Regions from separate parts of the Homo sapiens genome. Here region 2 is linked to region 1. Evidence: promoter capture Hi-C in 16 types of primary human blood cells and fetal thymus (Javierre and others, 2016). All regions are on one chromosome and are shown on one strand. Each heading gives the region's core, a stretch centred on a gene start or on the middle of the fragment in contact. The rest is flanking DNA. Distances are from core to core; before and after follow the strand shown.

The links. The method cuts DNA at HindIII sites, captures the fragments that hold promoters and counts their contacts. A CHiCAGO score of 5 or more calls a contact.
Region 2: a fragment that was not itself captured here is called in contact with the fragment with the promoter of PSD in region 1 in 1 of 17 cell types (non-activated CD4 T cells); the score reaches 5.6 in non-activated CD4 T cells.

The regions. Positions count from the first base shown.
Region 1 is chr10:102,416,032-102,420,921 of GRCh38, forward strand. PSD (pleckstrin and Sec7 domain containing) reads right to left here and starts at 2,754. Exons shown (of 17, transcript NM_002779.5): 1 at 2,670-2,754; 2 at 354-1,090; 3 at 1-88. The coding sequence starts at 1,007. It overlaps FBXL15 (F-box and leucine rich repeat protein 15), which reads left to right and starts at 4,805. Exons shown (of 4, transcript NM_024326.4): 1 at 4,805-4,890. RefSeq lists an enhancer at 4,723-4,890. The HindIII fragment of the contact is 10,611 bases long and covers 1-4,890 here.
Region 2 is chr10:102,112,102-102,116,991 of GRCh38, forward strand. All of the region lies in intron 1 of LDB1 (LIM domain binding 1), which reads right to left. Among named protein-coding and RNA genes, the nearest start is that of LDB1, 5.8 kb to the right of the region's middle. RefSeq lists silencers at 2,253-2,342, 2,393-2,542, 2,563-2,712, 2,823-3,032. The HindIII fragment of the contact is 8,794 bases long and covers 1-4,890 here.

The DNA of each region.
Region 1 (4,890 bases), core at 1,504-4,003:
CCAAGGAGCCATAGAAGAATTCCCATTTGGCTCTAGCGATTCTCTGGGCATGAGAGGAGACTTCCCGGGGGGAGGACCAGGTATCCCCCTGAGCCAACGAGGGAGACACAGGCACCCAGAGATAAAGCCAGACATACAAGGACACAAGAATATGGGACAGAAACAGAAATTAAAACATGCATCGACAGAGATGGAGGTTCAGAGACACAGAGACAAACACAGAGGGCAAGAGAGAGGCAGATTTAGAACAGATTAAAGGATTCAGAGTGAACAGCAGACAAGCCCATGTCTGACAGGAGGCTGAGCCTTGCCCCTTCACTGGGGGCCCAGGGAGCCCAGGGGAAGTTGCATACCTGGTTCAGGAATCCAGTGTCAGCAGGTCCTCCGAAGAGTGTGGCCAGGCGCTCAGGGGGGCCCCCCAGCCCATTGGGGAGAGAGGAGTAAAGGCCATCTGCTCCAACCTGGGGTGGGGCTGGCGGCCCATGTACAAGGTTCCGGCTGCCAGGTAGGGCCGAGCCTCCTCTGGCGGGGAGTGGGTCTGATGTGGATGCTTCCAGCCGTAACTTCCGGTTGGAGCCAGGCCCAAGGGCTGGGGTGGGCCTGGGAGGAGAAACCCCACCCAGATCCCAGCTCCGACTCAAGCCCCCTGGAGCAGGTAGCCCATTCAGTGGCCTCACACTGGCCTTCTCCACAAAGCGGAAGATGACCACAGAGCTCTGGGCCCCGGGTGGGGGCTGCCCAGTGGGTGAAGAGGGTGCCCAGGGTGAGGGAGCAACACGGGGTGAGGGGGGGCCACGCAGAGGTGTACAGGGTGCTGTCACACGTCCCAGTTCCCGGCCTCGAGGACCTGGACCTGCCACTCGCCGTAGCAAGGAGCCTGTGCTGCCATACATGCTGGCTGGGGGGCTCTGGGGCACCGGGCCTTCGGGGAGCCAGCGGCGTGGGCATCGTGGTGGGGAGATGGCACAGTCGCCTTCCGAGCAGAAGCGCATGGCACCCTGGGCCATGCTGGGGCCGGGGGTCAGGCTGGGGGGGCAGGGATGGCGAGGCCAGGCGGGGAGTAAGGGGGCTGCATGCTCTTCAGACAGGCCTGTAAGAGAGGAAGGGGAGCATGGGGTGAACTGCCAAGGAGTTAGATGGATAGGACAGCAGAGATAGGGAAGGGAAAGTTGGCTAGGGCCTCTGAGTATCAGGGACCTAGCACACCCTGGTAATATGGGATCATTGATCCCACGCCTGGGGACTACTTCCATAGAGGCCTGACGAGAAAAGACTTATACACCCAGTGGGCCCCTGGCTCCTTTCCTTCTGCCTGAGGCCCTGAGCATCACCCTGGGAGGAGAGAGGAAGCAACTTCAAAGTTGAGTGAGCCCGGAGTTCTTATGGCACTTTGGAGCTACTTCTAGAATAGGGGAAGTTGGTACCCCACCCTCTGGAAAAGGGGTGTCAGCCAGCTGTCACCATCATACAGCCCTGTGACCCCTATAGTCTCTCTTATGGAGGCCCCTCACTCAGGGAAGGGAAACTCAGGCCTCCTGGAAGGAGAGGGAAGAGGAACAGGTGTTATATAGGGATGCTGAAGGGCTGAGAGGCACAGCATGGAAGTGGGGAGAAAAGCCTGAGCAGAGGCTCCTACCCCCAATATATACATACTGAGTGGGAAAGGGACATTCTTCTTTTTTTTTTTTTTTTTTGAGATGGAGTTTCGCCCCTGCTGCCCAGGCTGGAGTGGAATGGCGCTATCTCAGCTCACTGCAACCTCCGCCTCCCAAGTTCAAGTGATTCTCCTGCCTCAGACTCCTGAATAGCTTGGATTACAGGCGCTCAGCACTATGCCTGGCTAATTTTTGTATTTTTAGTAGAGATGGAGTTTCACCATGTTGTCCAGGCTAGTTTCAAACTCCTGACCTCAGGGGATCCACCCACTTTGGCCTCCCAAAGTGTTGGGATTACAGGCGTGAGCCACCGCACCCGGCCAGGGACATTCTTTTCTTCATACAGGTACAGACAGGCACCTACACACACACAAACACACACACACACACACACACACACACACGCACACACATACATAAGGACAAATATGTCAGTACACAGTTAAACACATTCATAGGCAACACCCTCTGGCACACACACAGACACACACACACACACACTGCTCAAAGACACACCCTCATGCACTCTCACAGTCATAACAAGTATGTGTGTAATGAAAAGGCACATGCTTGTTTTACACACACACCATCATCAAACAGGAACACACAAAGAGGTACCCAAATATATACACAAGCTGTCATTCTCCAGTGCACACAGAGGTCCAGGTGTATCAGACACTCACAGAGACCTACTGCTCACAGTCACATACACATACAGATGTACACATACAGATGTACACACTCAAGCAGGGACACACACCGTCCCCTCCCCCCCACCTACTGGGGTCTCTTGAGGGGAATCTGCACCCATATTCCTCTCCTCTCCCTCTCTCCCCAGGGGTAAGACAGATCCCGCCCAGGAGAGACCATAACCAGGTAAAGGGGCCTCTGGTGGCAATGCAGGGGAGGGGCAGAGGTCAGGAGTAGCAACCCTGCCAGGCAGGTTCCGGAAGCTCAACGGGGTCCCAGCGCATACCCGGTGCAGCCCCAACTCAATGCCACCTCAGTACTCACCGCTGCTCGCCCAGAGCTGAGACCGAGGAGAGACAGAGGAGAGGCTGGGCCCAGCTGAGCTGTGAAGGCAGCGCGGCTCCCGTTTGCTCCAGGCCCGCCCGCCTCTCAGTCCCTCCCCCTACCCCCTACGCGCCGCTCAGGCAACGCTAATCCCCCCCACCCCCCGCCCTCTCCCAGGGCCCAGAGCCCCGGAGGCTGCCAGCCCCCCTTGTCGCTAGGTCCCCGCTGGGCTCTCCCGCCAACCTAAGACCCGCCCCAGACAAGGAGGAGGGCGCATGGAACCCCTGGTTCTATTCCCCAGACCCTCACGTGCCCCACCCCACTTGTGTCCACGTCTCTCTCGCCCACCGCCCCTTGAGCCACACGTAAGGCCCGGCTGCACACGCGTGTCCCGCTCCAGACCCCACGCGTGTCCCTAGGAGGCTGCCACATGACCTGTTACATGCCACACGCGCTCCCGCCCCCACGAGCACGCGGCCGCGCCAAGCACACGGTATGGGTGTAGACTGGACCCGCCCCCTAAATCCAGGAGACCATCAACTATGGAAAGGAGATCTAGGGAACACCGTCTTGAACCCGCCAGGGGTTTTGAGTCTCGGACCCAGGAGATCCAACCCTGACCACCCTCCCAGGATGCAGCAGGGGGATGTTAAATCAGACTTCAGGAAGAACTTCCTTGCTGCCTGAGTTAGGTGTCGTCACGCCTGCCCAGGGGTAAGAGGTTAGACGGGATGAACTAGGGACCGGAAGACGTGGGGGACCGGCAACCCTTGTGCCCTTGGCCAGGGTAGAAGGGGGCCCTGCTATTTTAAGAAAGAGCCGCTGGAGTTACTATGGCAACTACTCTCTTTGGGAGGGCCAGGGCGGGCAGATGGTGACCTCGGAAGGAAGAAGGGGTCTGTTCGGGCAGTCAGGGGGCGCGAGGACGTGCGAGGCGGGGGCGCGCGGGGCTCACCGCGGGGAGGGGCGGCGCGGACTCCGCGTGGTGCTGAAGGGGACAGCGCCAGATTTGTCGCACTGCGCAGGCGCAGAGGCGCGAACAAAGAGGGGAGGGGGACGAGGCGCGCGGCCGGAGGTGGTGCGCGCTCACGTGGCTCTATCTTTGCAGGGGTCTGTCCTCCCAGCTACCCCCTCCCTAAGCAGGCTGAGGAAGAAGAGATAGCAAGCCCTCACCTAACTTGACCCCTTTCTTGTCTCTCCCCGCTGCTAGCTTCTCCCTTCTCGCTGCCTTGCGGGGTGGGGAAACGTGGAAGGAATTCTGGGAAAACCAGATGTCTGGGTTCTCTATTCCCGTCTGGCTTGATTCTGGACAAGGGGCTTCCTCTCCAGGGCCTCGGTTTCCCCATCTTTAAAATGGACTGATAGCATAGACCTGCCCACCTTTCAGAGGTGCCCGAAGCCTTGACGAGATAACAGATGAGAAGTGGTTTTCGTTGTGATGAGCCAGCTGAAGCGGTTGCACCGGAGCGCCAGACCGTCAGCGGTGCAGTGGCTCTCGCGTCCTTCACATCCCCCCACACCCATCCCGTGGATGATGGGGGAAGGCACTACTCCTGGGGTTCCCCGAAGCGGATCCTGGGACTGGGACCTGGGGACGCGGTGAGAGGCAGCCCTGAAGCTGAGTCCAGAGGTCTGGGGCGTCATTGTCCCAGGGCGGACCCAGCCCCAGACCCTACAACTAAACCCAAGGCCAGCCGAGAAGCACTACCACTGGCGGGCTGAGCTGAGCTCTCATTCTTCTTAGGACTCTGGACCTTTGGAGGAAATGAAAGGGACCCAGTTGGAAATATAGTCTTTCTTCGCGCCCCCTACATCTCTCTCCCCCGGCGGAAACGCGGCCCAAACTGTTACGAAGTGGAAGAGGCTGGATAGCTCTTCATAATTAATCAGGAATGGGAGGTTTGAGCAGGTTTACTTGATGAGGGAAACATTATAGCCTCGCCAATTCATTCATTATTTCAACAATTACTTATTGAACACCTGCTACGTGGCAGACAGTAAGAGCCTGGATAGTTTCTCCCCGTTTTTCAAAGTCGCTAAACGCGACCAGAGGGCAGAGGAGAGGCCGGTAACCTAAGAGTCCTGGCTCCGCCCCCTCCGCGTTTGGCCTTGCCTGCTCCTCCCACCACCACTTCGCTCAGAGGCGGCTACTGGCTCAAGAGGACGACAGAAGCCAGTCTCTGATGCCCACCGCATTCTCCAGCTTCAGGCCTCAAGCCCT
Region 2 (4,890 bases), core at 1,288-3,787, 300 kb before region 1:
AGTCCTAGATGACAGAAGAGGAATTGAAGCTGGGAAGAATGATTACAGAATAAATAAATATCCAATCATTAGAATCTAATATTGATAAACCCCCTTTTAATCTACATACTTTCACTCAATCATCAAAACAACCTTATGAGGTAGCAGGGCTGACCATAACATTCCCATTTTACAGATGAGGCAACTGAGGGCTCAAAGGACCTTGCCAAGATCATAAAGCTAGTAACTGTCAAAGCTAGGACTTGAGCTTGGATCTTCTGATTCCCACATCCTATACTCTTTCTACCATCTGACCCCTCTATTGCCCTCTAGAGACCAAAGTGGGGGAGGAAAAGGGAGGATTTTCAAACTCTGCCCTTCCTCCACCCTCAGGGTCTCAGGAGGGCAAGGGATGGAAAGATAAATGGGGGTGGGTGCCTGTTGGGTGTGGCCTACCAGATAACCAGTTGGGCCTTCTGCCTCCCCACTAACGGCCACTCCCTTATCAGCCCAGCCCCCACCCCCGCCCCCAAGGGTAGACAGTATTGTCTCCAAACCAGAAACCCAAAGCCTCAACCCCTTTTCTCTTCTGAGACTTGGGAGTCGGGGAAGCAGGCAGATGAGCCTCCTTTGCATCCCACTCTACCTACAATTGAGAAGTAGGTGGTCTGGGAAGAAGCCTATGTTCCTCAGTCTAGGGGCAAGTGGTCACTAGACAGGGGTCTCACTAGTGTGTATCTGTGATGTGCACATGTCCTCTCTCTCACCTCACCTAACAGCAAACAGTTCCTGGAATACTGTTTTCTGACTGGAAAAAGTGTTAAATTCATAGTTGGGTATGAGCCAGGTACCCCTGCAACTCTGTTTCCCCTTCTCACCAGATAGGAGGGGAAACTGAGGCACAGGCCCAAAAGTTCATCTGACTCCAATCACATTTGCTTCCTTGGGTCCCTAAAACTCGACTGCATTTGGAAGGGTAGCTAGATTGGCTGTATCTAGATCTCCTCCCCAACTTAGATACAAAACCTATTTTGTTTCTTTGGGGGGAAGAGACAAAAGAAGACCCTGTGCCAACATGTGTCATTTAATTCTCTCCCCAGAGCCCTGTCCTCACAATGCAGGCAAAAGGAGGGTCCCAGACTGCACAGTCTCTGAAGATGCCAAGTCAGAGCCTGTGTGTGCCTGCACACACGTGTGCCTCATCCTGCCTAGCAGGCTTTCACCCTCAGCTCGCCCTAACATGCCTATCAAGGGCTGGAACCCAGCAGCCCCAGGCAGATTCAGATGCCCGCAACAGGCCCTCACCCCATGCACGAGCTCTCACGGGCCACATCCATATGCTCCAAGAACAGCACACACAGCCTTCACATGCCAGTCTGGACTGAGCCTGTGTCTCCAGAAAGACAGTCCCCACCCAGCCACCAAGTCTCCCCAATCCACAGACAGGCAGACTAAGGCCACACAGGAAGCCCAAACTCACACAGCCCACCAGAGGCCAGGCCTGGGCAATAAACCCAAGAGTAGATTCTCAGACCTGGCCCTCATCCCCCAACTAGGCCATCCTTTCTCCCATAGCTTAACCACCCCTGCCTCCTCAGTTTCCGGGCCACTTGAAATGTGTTAGCTCAAGAACCTGAAGAGACAGGAGGCAGGACGCCTGGGTTTCTCTCCAATTTTGTAAAAAAAAAAAAAAAAAAACTCTCAGAGCCTCCATTTCTCTCTCTAGAGAATGAACAGGCATTGTCTAGGCCTGGGTAAATAGCTCTGAGGAGCTAGAGCCCAAAGCTCTGGGCCTCTATTTACACCTCCAGTGAATGGACACAAACTCAGCATCTCTCCAGAGCCACAACTCCCAGTGGCTCCAGCACAAGGGCTTGGGAGTGAGTAGAGAAGGGGAGGGACATCACCCAGACCATCTGTCCCTGTTGCTGCCTGTCCCCAGCAGCAGGAGTAGAGGCAGCAAGGTGGGGGGACGGAGGAGATGTGTCATCCAGCCCTGGAGTCAGCCATAGCCCCCCTCCCACCTCTAGCAAATTGGAAGCCTTTAGGAAGGGGGAGAGAAGAGCCCAGAACTAGTAAAGTTTTCTCAGGGTGGAAGCTGCATCCCGGGGCTGAGGGGGGCACCTCCAGCTGGGTATTGCCATGGTAACCAGGCTGACTCGAGGGCAGGCCTCCTCCCTTTAGGGACTGGCCACAGGTCAGCAGGCCTGAGCGCCCCGGCGGCTCTGGGCTGGGGCACCTCTCCCCCAGCCCGCAGATCAGGCCCGGGCCGGGCTGAGGGCCTTCCGCCCACCCCCAACAGGCTCGCAGGGTGCCCAGACTTACCTGGGAGAACTGAGGGGGCCAGGAGAGGTACGGGGGAGCGACTGCAAGCCCAGAGGAGTCCTGGCAGGGGTGAGGGCTGACGGGGGGACAACTTCAGCAGCTCATGTCCCGAGTGGGACGGGCAGGCCCGACTGGGAGCTCCAGTCCGCCGGCCGCACAAAGACTCGCACGCACTGCCTCGGCCCGCCCCGCGGCGGCCGCTGTCCCGGGGGAAAGTTACAATGGCCACTGGGCCGGGGGCCGGGGGCCAGGGGGCCGGCCTGGGGGGCGGGGGGCCGCGGGGAGTCCGGAGCCTTCTTTGTTTGCAAGGTTTCCCTCAACAATGGCTGCTCCGCTCTTTCCTCTCTCCTCCTCCTCCTTCTCGGCTCTCCCCGCCGCCGCCTCTTGCTGCCTCTGCCTCCGAGCAGCCCGCCCGCCCTCCCCAGGCCACCGGGCCCCTCTGCTGGGGGCACCAGGAGAGGCAGGACCCGGCACTCACACTCACTCACACTCGCACACTCAAACACACACGCAGCGCCCGCCGGCTGCCTGCCTTTCTCCCTTTCTCTCCCTGCCTCCCTCCCTCCCCGCTCGCTCTCTCCGAGCCTCTCTCAGAATGAGGCCCCAGGGCGGGCGGAGGGTGGAGCTGCCCCCACCGGCCCCGCCCCCTCCCTGAGAGGAAAGAGGAAGAGCAAGGGAGGGAGGGAGGCTGGGACGGAGGGACTGCTGAGAAAAACAAAAGAGAGACAGAGACTGGGAGAGACAGGGGACGGATCAGATTGGGCCAGGAGAGACCTGGATGGAGGAGAGGCCTGTGGGGGCCAGGAACGAAATGCAGCCCGCCTCCCCCGAGCCCCAGGCACGGTGCTCAGGAGTGAGCAGGTGGGCCAAAGCCACTGGCAGAGATGGAGGAGGGCGGGCTCCTCTCTGCAGACTCCAAGATCTTCAAAGCACCTCCCAAACCTCCCCCAAATCTTTCTCGCCCCTGTGATCGCTCAGGTTGAAGGCTGGCCCGGACTGCCAGCCTGGGCTCCCCTGGTGAAATCCTGGAGCAGCTGGGGGGAGAGGCTCCAGGGGGTTATTTTTGACAGACACACATTCTGACATCAGACTGTAAACACTGATTGGAGGAAGGGGGACACTCCAGGCTTCCCTGCCCCCAACCCAGCTAAATTCCAAGCCTTGACTTAGATCCCCCTTAACAGGAAGCCCCCTTCCCCACCACCACTGAAGACAAGTGGGTGCCAGGGAAAGAGGCATTGTCAGAGCTAGGGAAAGCCAACTTGGCCATCCAAGGGTCCCCAGAAGGAGCTTAGTTTGCTGCTGAATCCTCCCCACCACCCCAGAAAAAAAAACGTGTGGTTAGTGGATAGGACCTGTTCTCCCATCCAGCAGGGCATCCCAAGGGAGCAGATATTTCTATTTTTTTTCCTAAGGTAATTTTGTTGTAGCAGGAGGGAATATTTCTAAAACTTGGGTAGTGGGCCAGACCTTACTCGTGGACAAATAGGAAAAGGAAAATACATAGTACACACACACACACACAAACACACACACACACACGGGAAGGGGGAGCACGAACCTTCTATTTCCTTCTTTGCAATTTGAGTGTCTGTTTCTCTACTTCCTGTCTCCTACCCCCAACTATATTCACACATAACTCCAAGGACAGGATTTCTTATGACATACTCACTAGTTAACTGTGCAGTAATATTGCACCTGGCTCTGTGAACATCTTCCACATAAATAACACATCTCACTTTCACATAAATCACTACCTGATACACATTTCAACCTGTGATATATCTTTTTTCCAAGACGGAGTCTCGCTCTGTTGCTTAGGCTGGAGTGCAGTGGCGCGATCTCGGCTCACTGCAACCTCCAGCTCCTGGGTTCAAGCGATTCTCCTGCCTCAGCCTCCTGAGTAGCTGAGATTACAGGTGCATGCCACCACACCCAGCTAATTTTTGTATTTTTAGTAGAGACAGGTTTCACTATGTTGGCCAGGCTGGTCTCGAACGCCTGACCTCAGGTGATCCACCCACCTTGGCCTCCCAAAGTGCTAGTATTACAGATGTGAGCCACCGCGTCTGGCCATCAACCTGTGATATATCTCAAATCCTAAATATACCCAAATCCTGGATATATACACACACACACAGTCTAAGTCATACACACTGGGACCTATGACACGCATCCTGACCTCAATACACACACCAAAACTGTGTTATAACCCCTAAACCTGTGACAGCCTATCACATACACACCCCGATCATTTATTATGCAAGGACTTAACCTATAAATCACCCTCTCTGAAGCCTGCGTACCATTCCTCATCACAGCCTGGCCATAGAATAAACCCCAGCTTTCACAAACATACTGAAATCTATAACATTCAGCCAGACCCTGCAACATACAGCCTATCACCAGGACTTAAGACACTCCCACTGACTCCCAAATTTACAGCTTAACTCTGGGGTAGTCCCACTTCTCCCCCACTGCCTTTAAACTTTCCAAAGTGCATTCACAGGCAGTACCTCAAGAGATCCTCATAGCACATAGGGCCAAATATCCTAACAGTGAGATCCTAACAGAACCCACTGAGAC